Linked DNA regions of Homo sapiens: all the other regions are linked to region 3. The links are contacts of gene promoters, found by promoter capture Hi-C in blood cells and fetal thymus (Javierre and others, 2016). All regions are on one chromosome and are shown on one strand. The core of a region is centred on a gene start or on the middle of the fragment in contact, and the rest is flanking DNA. Distances in the headings are between cores, read along the strand shown.

What was found. The method cuts DNA at HindIII sites, captures the fragments that hold promoters and counts their contacts. A CHiCAGO score of 5 or more calls a contact.
Region 1: the fragment with the promoter of OXTR here is called in contact with a fragment that was not itself captured in region 3 in 3 of 17 cell types (naive B cells, M1 macrophages and endothelial precursors); the score reaches 7.1 in naive B cells.
Region 2: the fragment with the promoter of CAV3 here is called in contact with a fragment that was not itself captured in region 3 in 1 of 17 cell types (endothelial precursors); the score reaches 5.2 in endothelial precursors.

The regions. Positions count from the first base shown.
Region 1 is chr3:8,768,363-8,771,314 of GRCh38, reverse strand. OXTR (oxytocin receptor) reads left to right here and starts at 1,702. Exons shown (of 4, transcript NM_000916.4): 1 at 1,702-2,084; 2 at 2,724-2,819. RefSeq lists enhancers at 1,538-1,587, 2,235-2,906. The HindIII fragment of the contact is 6,509 bases long and covers 1-2,952 here.
Region 2 is chr3:8,732,094-8,735,246 of GRCh38, reverse strand. CAV3 (caveolin 3) reads right to left here and starts at 1,445. Exons shown (of 2, transcript NM_033337.3): 1 at 1,257-1,445. The coding sequence starts at 1,370. The HindIII fragment of the contact is 6,732 bases long and covers 1-3,153 here.
Region 3 is chr3:9,303,276-9,306,371 of GRCh38, reverse strand. It overlaps a transcript of SRGAP3 not described here. Among named protein-coding and RNA genes, the nearest start is that of SRGAP3-AS4, 55 kb to the right of the region's middle. The HindIII fragment of the contact is 5,856 bases long and covers 1-3,096 here.

The DNA.
Region 1 (2,952 bases), core at 453-2,952, 540 kb after region 3:
CTTCTGTAACATCATTTATTGTTGTCACACTGCAAATATTAGGTTGATGCAAAAGTAATTGCAGTTTTTGCCATTATTTTTAATAGCAAAAACCACAATTACTTTTGCACCAATCTAATATGTGTTTTTCTCCCTGGCCGAAGCTCAAAGGTGAAGGAGCATGTCTTATTCATTGTTAGGAGTTTTCAAGGGGACCTCTCTATTTCCTGCCTGGTTTCTGCACACAATGAGAAATAAAACAAAAGACAGGAAATGGGGATCACACTATTACTGTTGTTGTTATTGTTGTTGTTTAGATTAAAACTAAGTTAGAGAATTTACCTTTTGCATGAGACTAAATAGCCCTGTTAGGTGAATCCAGAATTAGGCTGTCTCACGGGCTACGCGAGGACCACACAGGTAGGCAGGCTTCCCTACAAAGGGTAGAAGAGTCTGTCCTTGGTGAAGTGGCTCAGTAAACTTGCTCCCTAGAAAGCAGCTGTCTTCCAGGAGAAAGAAGGGCAGGCTTGGTTCTACAGGCCAGTGTTTTCCTTCTCACATTCACCGGTCAGGGGCTCATAGGGAAAAATCTGCCTTCATCCAGCCGTGGAGTGAGGCAGGGGTGTTTTACCTGCTAGGATTGAACCCTCAGATTGCACAGATTATACAGTTTCAGAAAACCAGAGGGACAGGACCTCAGACATTAGCTATCTTGACCAGTGCTCTCATTTTACATATGAGGAGACTGAGGCCCAAAGAGAAGGGGCTTGCCCAAGGTCACTTCATTCTCACCTGAGTCGTCTGTAACTTTAATCTGTAATTTTCGAGGCCGATAGGTACTATTGACTAATATTGATTAATACTGCCTGCCACCCCTTGGCAATGCTGTCAAGATTCCCAGCCCCATTCTGGAATGATTACTCAGCTAGAACCCTGGGATCCAGGTGCTGTAAGGTTGGCCCCTGGGATATCTCGGCATGGGGCTGTAATTGTGGATTAAGGAAACCCAGTCCTTGGCTAACTCAAGTCTCTCCACATAATAAAAAGACGGAGAAGTGAAATGTCAGGAGGAAATACACATTTAATGCATTTTAAAGAGCCCTGTTTATTTTTGAATCCTGGCCTTTTTTTCTGACTTAATTCTTGGCCACTGTAAATTACTTCAAAAAATGATTTTAGAATAGAGAAGGGGCAGGGAGGCTGAGAAGCTGTCTTTAACATTTTATCTTCCTTTGGCATCATTTAGAATTTTAATTCCGAAGCGCGACAAGGAGGCAGAAACGGCTCTTGGGCGCAGACAAGCAGAATCACTTTAAATGAAGACAGTGTTGTGCTTCAGAATTTCCTCTAAAACTACCGAAAAAATAACGCCTCTCCCAGCACTGCTTAGAATAGAGGCCATTTCTAATTCCTCATTAACGGGAATAGGAACAAAAGTATTCCAAAGCAAAGACTTATTTGAGTTCACTGCTAAAGCCGCTACATCAAGCTGGAGGTGTGGGGGGAGAGAAAAGCCTGAAAATTAACATCATTTTTGGGAAATAATCAGTTTAAATGCTTTTGTAACTTCATCACTATCTACCCGGGGAAGAACATTATTATTCAAGCCTCCTATGTGTCTCGGAGTCAAGAGCTTCTAAACCAAGAAAGGAAGAAACGGGCGGGTTATTGACGAGTTCCCTCCCTCTCGCAGTTTTAAACCACTGCAAAATAAACCCATTTGTTAAGGCTCTGGGACCAACGCTGGGCGAACCAGCTCCGCTCCGGAGGGGTCTGCGCGGCTGGCCTCGCCCGCCCCCTAGCGGACCCGTGCGATAGTGCAGCCTCAGCCCCAGCGCACAGCGCCGCATCCAGACGCTGTCCGCGCGCGCAGCCTGGGAGGCGCTCCTCGCTCGCCTCCTGTACCCATCCAGCGACCAGCCAGGCTGCGGCGAGGGGATTCCAACCGAGGCTCCAGTGAGAGACCTCAGCTTAGCATCACATTAGGTGCAGCCGGCAGGCCATCCCAACTCGGGCCGGGAGCGCACGCGTCACTGGGGCCGTCAGTCGCCGTGCAACTTCCCCGGGGGGAGTCAACTTTAGGTTCGCCTGCGGACTCGGTGCAGGTAGCTGGGTGCTAAGCAGGGGTGGACGGGATGGCTAGGGCCGGTGGAGCCATCGGGACCCGAGTGGAGGTGGTGGGGTGCCTCGCACTCCTTGTTCCTGGAGGAGCTCGGGGTGTTCCGAGAGATTGTAAAGTGACTTCTCGGGATTGAGACTCAGAGTCCTTGATTATCTGGGTCCAAAGCGCAAGTCAGGGGTTCCAGAACTTTCGAGGCTGCCGGGCTGGGGAGGAGCCCCGCGGGAGGTGTCTATGCCAGGGTCTGGGAACAGCGCTTGGGCATCTTGGGCTTTGAGGCAGGGGTTCCCCCAGCAGGGACTGCAGAACCGGGTTTCCACCGAAGCAGGTGCTGTGGAAGTTCAGGGAGTGACGGCCGACCGTCTTAGAAAAGGGGGTTAGACGGGGAAGGACCAGAGCTGGGGTTTCCCAGGCAAGTGGCTATTTGGGGATTTCCGGAGGAAGTACTTGAATTAATGTTTACTAGGAGAGGGGCTGGTTTGGGGGTCCCGCGGCAGGTGGATATGCTGAGGGTCGGAGCCTGGGGCGAGTAGGTAGTTTGGAGATTCCCTCGGGGAGGTGATTTGGTTTTAGATTCCCACTCCCGGAGGAACGTTGCTGATTTTGACCCTCCCTTCTCCCCCAGTGGAAGCCGCTGAACATCCCGAGGAACTGGCACGCTGGGGGCTCTGGGCTTGTGGCCGGTAGAGGATTCCCGCTCATTTGCAGTGGCTCAGAGGAGGTACCTCCAACGGGGATTTCTGGGGTGGCGGCTGAGCAACCCGAGGCCGGCGGTTGTGCCCTGTTGTTTCAGATGAGTTGGGTTCCTGGGAATGGGACAAGCACGCCCTACCCGCGTCGGAAGAGAAACGCGG
Region 2 (3,153 bases), core at 196-2,695, 570 kb after region 3:
AGGAACATTAATTTCACCTGTTTGCTTTCGCATTTTAAAATGTGGCTGCTAGAAAATTTTAAATTCCTTGTGGTAACAGTATCCCTATTGGACAGCACTGGCCTGAGATTCCAATGCTTTCAGTAGGATCTGAGAGGCCTCAGACACTGGCCTCTTAACAGCCCCTCCAGTGACTCAGATGCTGGTGGCTGGGGACCCTTCTTGGAGGAATTCTGCTTTAGAAAGGTACCTCTGAGCCAGTTGTGGAGTCTTGCACCTGTAATCCCAGCACTTTGGGAGGCAGGAGGATCACTTGAGCCCAAGAGTTTGATACCAGCTTGGTCAACATAATGAAACCCAGTCTCTACTAAAAATACAAAAATTAGCTGGGCATGGTGGCACTCGCCTGTGGTCCCAGCTAATCAGGAGGTGGAGGAGGGAGAATCACTTGAGCCTGGGAGGTTGAGGCTGCAGTGAGGCGTGAGTGTGCGACTGCACTCCAGCCTTGGGGACAGAGAGAGACTGTCTCAAAAAGAAAAAAGAAAGATCCCTCTGGGTACTGGCTGGAAGTTGGATTGAAGGTGTGGGCCTGGAGGCAGCAGGGCCGCTAGTGTCACCAGGAGGCGAGGGAAGAGGCCCAACTTCAGACGCTGAGAGACTCCCTGAGGGCTAGACAACCCCGAGCTTTCTCTTCGAGGGTCCCGGGTGCCGTCTGCCCTGTCCTGGCCACTAGACCTGGGGTGAGGGGGTAGCTAGGGGAGGGCTGGGCATGGCCCTCGGCCTTGGGGACAGATATTGGGCAGTGCTCTGGGGGAGTGAGTGTACCTCGAGGGGCTGCCGGCCCTGCTGGAAGCTGCCCTCTGGGGATTAACCCTGCACCCACTGGAGAGACCGCAGAAATGCCCCTTGGCACAGAAAGGAGCCCAACTTGGCCGCCCGTTCCTGTTCCTCCCAGGGTGAGAGCCAGGAGTGAGTGGCAGGAGCGTCACAGTAGTAAGGAGGGATTTTCTTTGTGACTCGCTCCTCCTGCCCTGATTAGCACTTAGGTCATGGAGATGAGGCTAATTTTTTGCTCTTGATTTTGCTAAAGATCCTTCGGTGATTTAGAAGCCTTTTTTTGGGGGTGGGGTGGGGTTGGGGGGGTGATACAGAGACAACAGAGCAACAAGTCTCTTTTCAGGGAAACTGTGTCTGCAGCAGATACCCTCCCCTGCCAAGCGCCCACGTCTCGCAAACCTGACACTCTCCGCCCGCCGAGGCAGGCCTGCAGAGCCTACCTTGACTATGTCCTCGTTAATGTTCTTGGGGTCTCGGTTCACCAGGTCAATCTCCTTGCAGTGGATATCCTTGACGATCTGGGCCTCGAGATCTGTGTGCTCTTCTGCCATCATCGCAGAGCTGGGGGGATCCACAGGAGGAGATCCGAGCTGTGTGGCCGGCTGGGGCTGAAAATACTTGGGGCAGAGAGACCAATTCAGTGTCCCCAGACTTATGTCCCTGCCAGCTAAATAGGCCCCACCCAGCATGCCGGCTGACAGCTGTCCCACATAACTTCAGCCTGCCTCTCTCTAAAGCCTCCTGTGGCAGGCCTCCAAGCTAAAATTAAGACTGGAGCTCTTCTGGAAGGCCGATCGCTCCTTAAAGGGGGCTGCCTCAGGGCACTGGGCCTCAGGAGAGGGTGCAGAGGGCCTAGCGTTTCCTATGCATCGTGTGGCTGTGGCCAACTCGGCGGTCGCTCCGGGGCCCCTGGAATTTGCCCCACTGCTGTCAGCATTTTGGCTCCTTTGGGGTGCACTGCCCGTGGAGGGAAGTGGGGTTAGTCCCTCCTCTGCCTCTGGCTGGCTGTGTGACCTTTGGCACACTTCACCTCTCTAGGCCACTCTGTCCCCATCTGTAAAATGGAGAGATGATAATAACAATCAGGGCTCTCCTACCCAGGGAATGGCTTCAGGAGCTGGAATGCGATGTAGTGGGGCTTCTCGTTGGATTGCCAGTGCCTGGCCCTGCTGCTTGGTGACCTGGAGCAGGTCCGAGCTTTGTGGGTTTCTGAGGTTTCCACCTGGAGCAGGAGTTGATGGACTGTGGTGTGGGGCCAGGCTGGGGATGAAACAGGGAGAGGAAGCTGCTGTGGGGCTGCCCCTCGTCTGCCGTCTGGAGCCTGCACTGGGATATGCCCGGTGGGGGGAACATGAAGTCCATGTTCGTGCTACCCTTCACCCTGCCCTAGTGACAGCTTCCAGGATTTTCTTGGGTCCCAGACACTCCACATGCATCAGTGGGGTGCACCTCTCTTAGATACCTGCTCGGTTTTTCTGTGCCCTCTTCTAACTCAGCCTTCCCCTGGGCTCCAGCAGCATGAAGGATGGCAACTCTGAATCCTCAGGGGTCAGGGTCTGTGCTTCCATTTACCTGTCTATTCACTCCTTCATTCAGGATTTGCTAATAGCTGGGGATAAACAGACCAACAAGGCTCTGTCCGCCTTGAAGTGCTCCCAGTCAAGGTGGGGAGACTAATTAAAACAATAAGTGATTATAATACTGTGCGGTAAGTGCCACAGATCAGAGATATTTTACAAAGAGCTGGTCTTAGAAGTCCATAGGAGTCAGTAACTTACTCTGAGGACACCGGGGAAGACTTCCTGTGGGAGGTGGCTTTGCAGATAGGTATCGAATGACAAGCAGGAGCTCAGCACCTAGAACACTTCAAGTTACAGGATTGTGGATATTGAGGAGTGGTATAGACAGGAATGTTGAAAAGTGTGGAGTGGCTGGAGCACAGGGTGTCTGGGGTTGAGGCAGGAGATACAGCTCAGCTCAGGCCTGGGTGTGCAGCATCCCAAATGTCATACTAAAGAATGTGGATTTTGTCTAGGGGTGCTGGAAAGCCATTGAAGGCTTCAAAGCAGGACAGGGTCGGTATCAGATTTGTGTGTGAGGAAGCTCCCTGGTGGCCAGGTGGAGGGTGGATTGGAGCTGGGTGAAGTTTGAGGTAGGAGGGGGAAAACCAGAGGTGATTTAGGCTTTATCAATAATTACACCTGGCTAGTAACACAAAGGATGCAAAAGTAATAGTGACTTGAATAAGGTAGGAACTTTTTTTCTCACTTAACACAAGTAGTTCAGAAATATTATAGTGGCTCCATGATGTCTTCAGACATCTGGACTCCCATCCTT
Region 3 (3,096 bases), core at 494-2,993:
GAACAGGCAACCTACAGAATGGGAGAAAATTTTTGCAATCTACCCATCTGACAAAGGGCTAATATCCAGAGTCTACAAAGAACTTAAACAAATTTACAGAAAAAAATCAAACAACCCCATCAAAAAGTGGGCAAAGGATATGAACAGACGCTTCTCAAAAGAAGACATTTATGCAGCCAAAAAACACATGAAAAAATGCTCGTCATCACTGGTCATCAGAGAAATGCAGATCAAAACCACAATGAGATGCCATCTCACGCCATTTGGAATGGAGATCATTAAAAATTCAAGAAACAACAGATGATGGAGAGGATGTGGAGAAGAAATAGGAACACTTTTACATTGTTGGTGGGAGTGTAAATTAGTTCAACCATTGTGGAAGACAGTGTGGTGATTCCTCAAGGATCTAGAACTGGAAATACCATTTGACTTAGCAAACCCATTGCTGGGTATATACCCAAAGGATTATAAATCATGCCACTATAAAGACACATGCACACGTATGTTTATTGCGGCACTATTCACAATAGCAAAGACTTGGAACCAGCCCAAATGTCTATCAATGATAGACTGGATTAAGGAAATGTGGCACATATACACCATGGAATACTATGCAGCCCTAAAAACGGATGAGTTCATGTCCTTTGCAGGGACATGGATGAAACTGGAAACCATCATTCTCAGCAAACTATCACAAGGACAGAAAACCAAACACTGCATGTTCTCACTTATAGGTGGGAATTGAACAATGAGAACACCTGGACACAGGGTGGGGAACATCACACACTGGGGCCTGTCGGGGGGTGGGAGACTGGGGGACGGATAGCATTAGGAGAAATATCTAATGTAAATGACAAGTTGATGGGTGCAGCAAACCAACATGGCACATGTATACCTATGTACCAAACCTGCACATTGTGCACATGTACCCTAGAACTTAAAGTATAATAAAAAAATAAAAATAAAAAACAGCAACAAAAAAAATCTAAAAAAAAAAAAAAAAAAAAAGAGAGGACCTCCTGTGAGGGCTGTGGGTAGCTTCAGCCCCTCCCTGTTACACCGCAGCGTTCGCGTGGAGGTCACACTCTTCTTGAGCTGCCCTCACCAGTGACTGAGCACCAGGAGGACACTACAGTCCCGAAGCCTGAGGCTCTTCCTGCCCAATCCTTCCTCCCCTTCTCTCTTCTTTGGTGGCAGACCTGCAGCAGGGTCTGAGACTTTCTGGGCCTGCTCCTATTCCCTCACTCCTTTATCCTTCTTAGATGTTTCTTCCAATTAGTCTTTTGTATGTCTAATTTTGTCTTAGCGTCAGCTTCCTGGAAGGCCCAACCTGACATTTCTTTGTTCTCAGGACCCTGACATAATGGAGATGGAACAACCTCTGAAGGTTGTTGTGAGGATTAAATGAGGTATTGTTGAGAAAGGCTTAGCAGAAGGCCAGCACAGAGGAGGAGCTTAGTGATATTATTCCCCAGGTGAGCAGGTGGAGAATGGTATCTGTCAGATGTCAGTTTCATTAGCTGTTGCAACCCAGTGGACTGTCCCTGAATACCTGTCCCCTGGGAGTTTCTTCAGGAATAAGGGACTCAAAATTGGAAATGGGAAGCCCTGGGAAGATGCATCCCAGGCCCTCAGGGAGTGAGCATACGACCTCTGGAAGAAACTCCTGGTTTTGGGGAGGTCCTAGTGCGGAGGGGGAGAAGCCCAAATGGGAGGCTTTGAGCTTTATCCCTCACTGACAACAGCACCGGCCACTCGCTGTAGCTTGGAGGAGAGAGCCAAGGGCAGCAGAACATGGTGAACCTGGGCGTCAGAGTAAAATCCCAGCTCTGCCATTTACTACCTACCCACCAGGGCTGCTGTTAGATTTAAGATGCTAAAGATAGAATGCTGAGCACAGAGTGAATGTCTAAGACCTACTAGTTCCACTCCCCTCCCCGATACCATTTTCATTCTACCGTTCTTGTAACTACTCTGGGTTTGAGAATTATGGCAGGAGACTGTGCTAAGGAGCCAAAGTCTAATCTCTGGATTGCTGAGAATAAAAGGAAGGTCTGGGGAAAGAAAGGAGGGAGGGCAAGTGGGCATGAAGAAGAACAGAGCTTTCATTAGGCAAGTGTTTATGGGCAACCCCCACGTGCCAGGCTCTCTGCTGGGTGTTGGGTTATGCAGGTGATTAGGACACAGGCACTGTTCTTAAGGAGCTCAGGTGCTGAAGGGGAAGTTACTGTTGTGGACTAACTGGTCTGTAAGTCGTACATGGGGTCCCGTACCACAGGCAGGCACAGAGCTTGGCAGCAGTGCGACCCTGGACAGAATTGTTTGTGAAACGTCTCCCCTTCCAGACGAAGTTATTATAGCTCTTGTGATTTTGTGTGGTGCCTAGATTTCCCCCGTTGTACACTCAGTTCAGGAGTACTTACTCAAGTCTCACTCAAGGGCATGGGGACCCCAAACACCTTGTTCATGTGCACCCCAGGGCCCAGCACACTGTAGGCAGATGTGTGTTGACTGAGTGGTCTTCAGTTTCCTTATTTTAAGATGAAGATAATGTTGATCTTAACAGGCTGTTGTGTGGATTAAATGAAGTAATGTTTATCAAGTGTAAATCGCCTTCCAAATGTTATTATTGTAGACTTTTCAAATTGGTGCAGTCTCTTGTGGATTAAGCCAGTGACTTGAGCAGTCATTCTATACCTTCCTCATGGCTATTTTGAAGATTAAATAAATTAATATAAATAAAATGCTTAGAACAAGGCTTATCACATCACAAACACTCAAAAAGTGTTAGCTAAATCAACAAGGATAAAATTTCAGGTATGCAAGATGATTAAGTTTTAGAGATCTCTATATAGGTGTAGTATATAGTTAATACTGCTGTATTGTGTACTGGAAAATCCATTAAGAGGGTAGGTCTTATGTTAAGTGTTCTTTTTTTTTTTTTTTTGAGATGGAGTCTCACTCTGTCGCCCAGGCTGGAGTGCAGTGGTGCGATCTCAGCTTGCTGCAACCTCCACCTCCCGGGTTCAAGCAATTCTCCTGCTTCAGCCTCCTCAGTAGCTGGGACTACAGGCATGCGCCACCATGCCCAGCTAA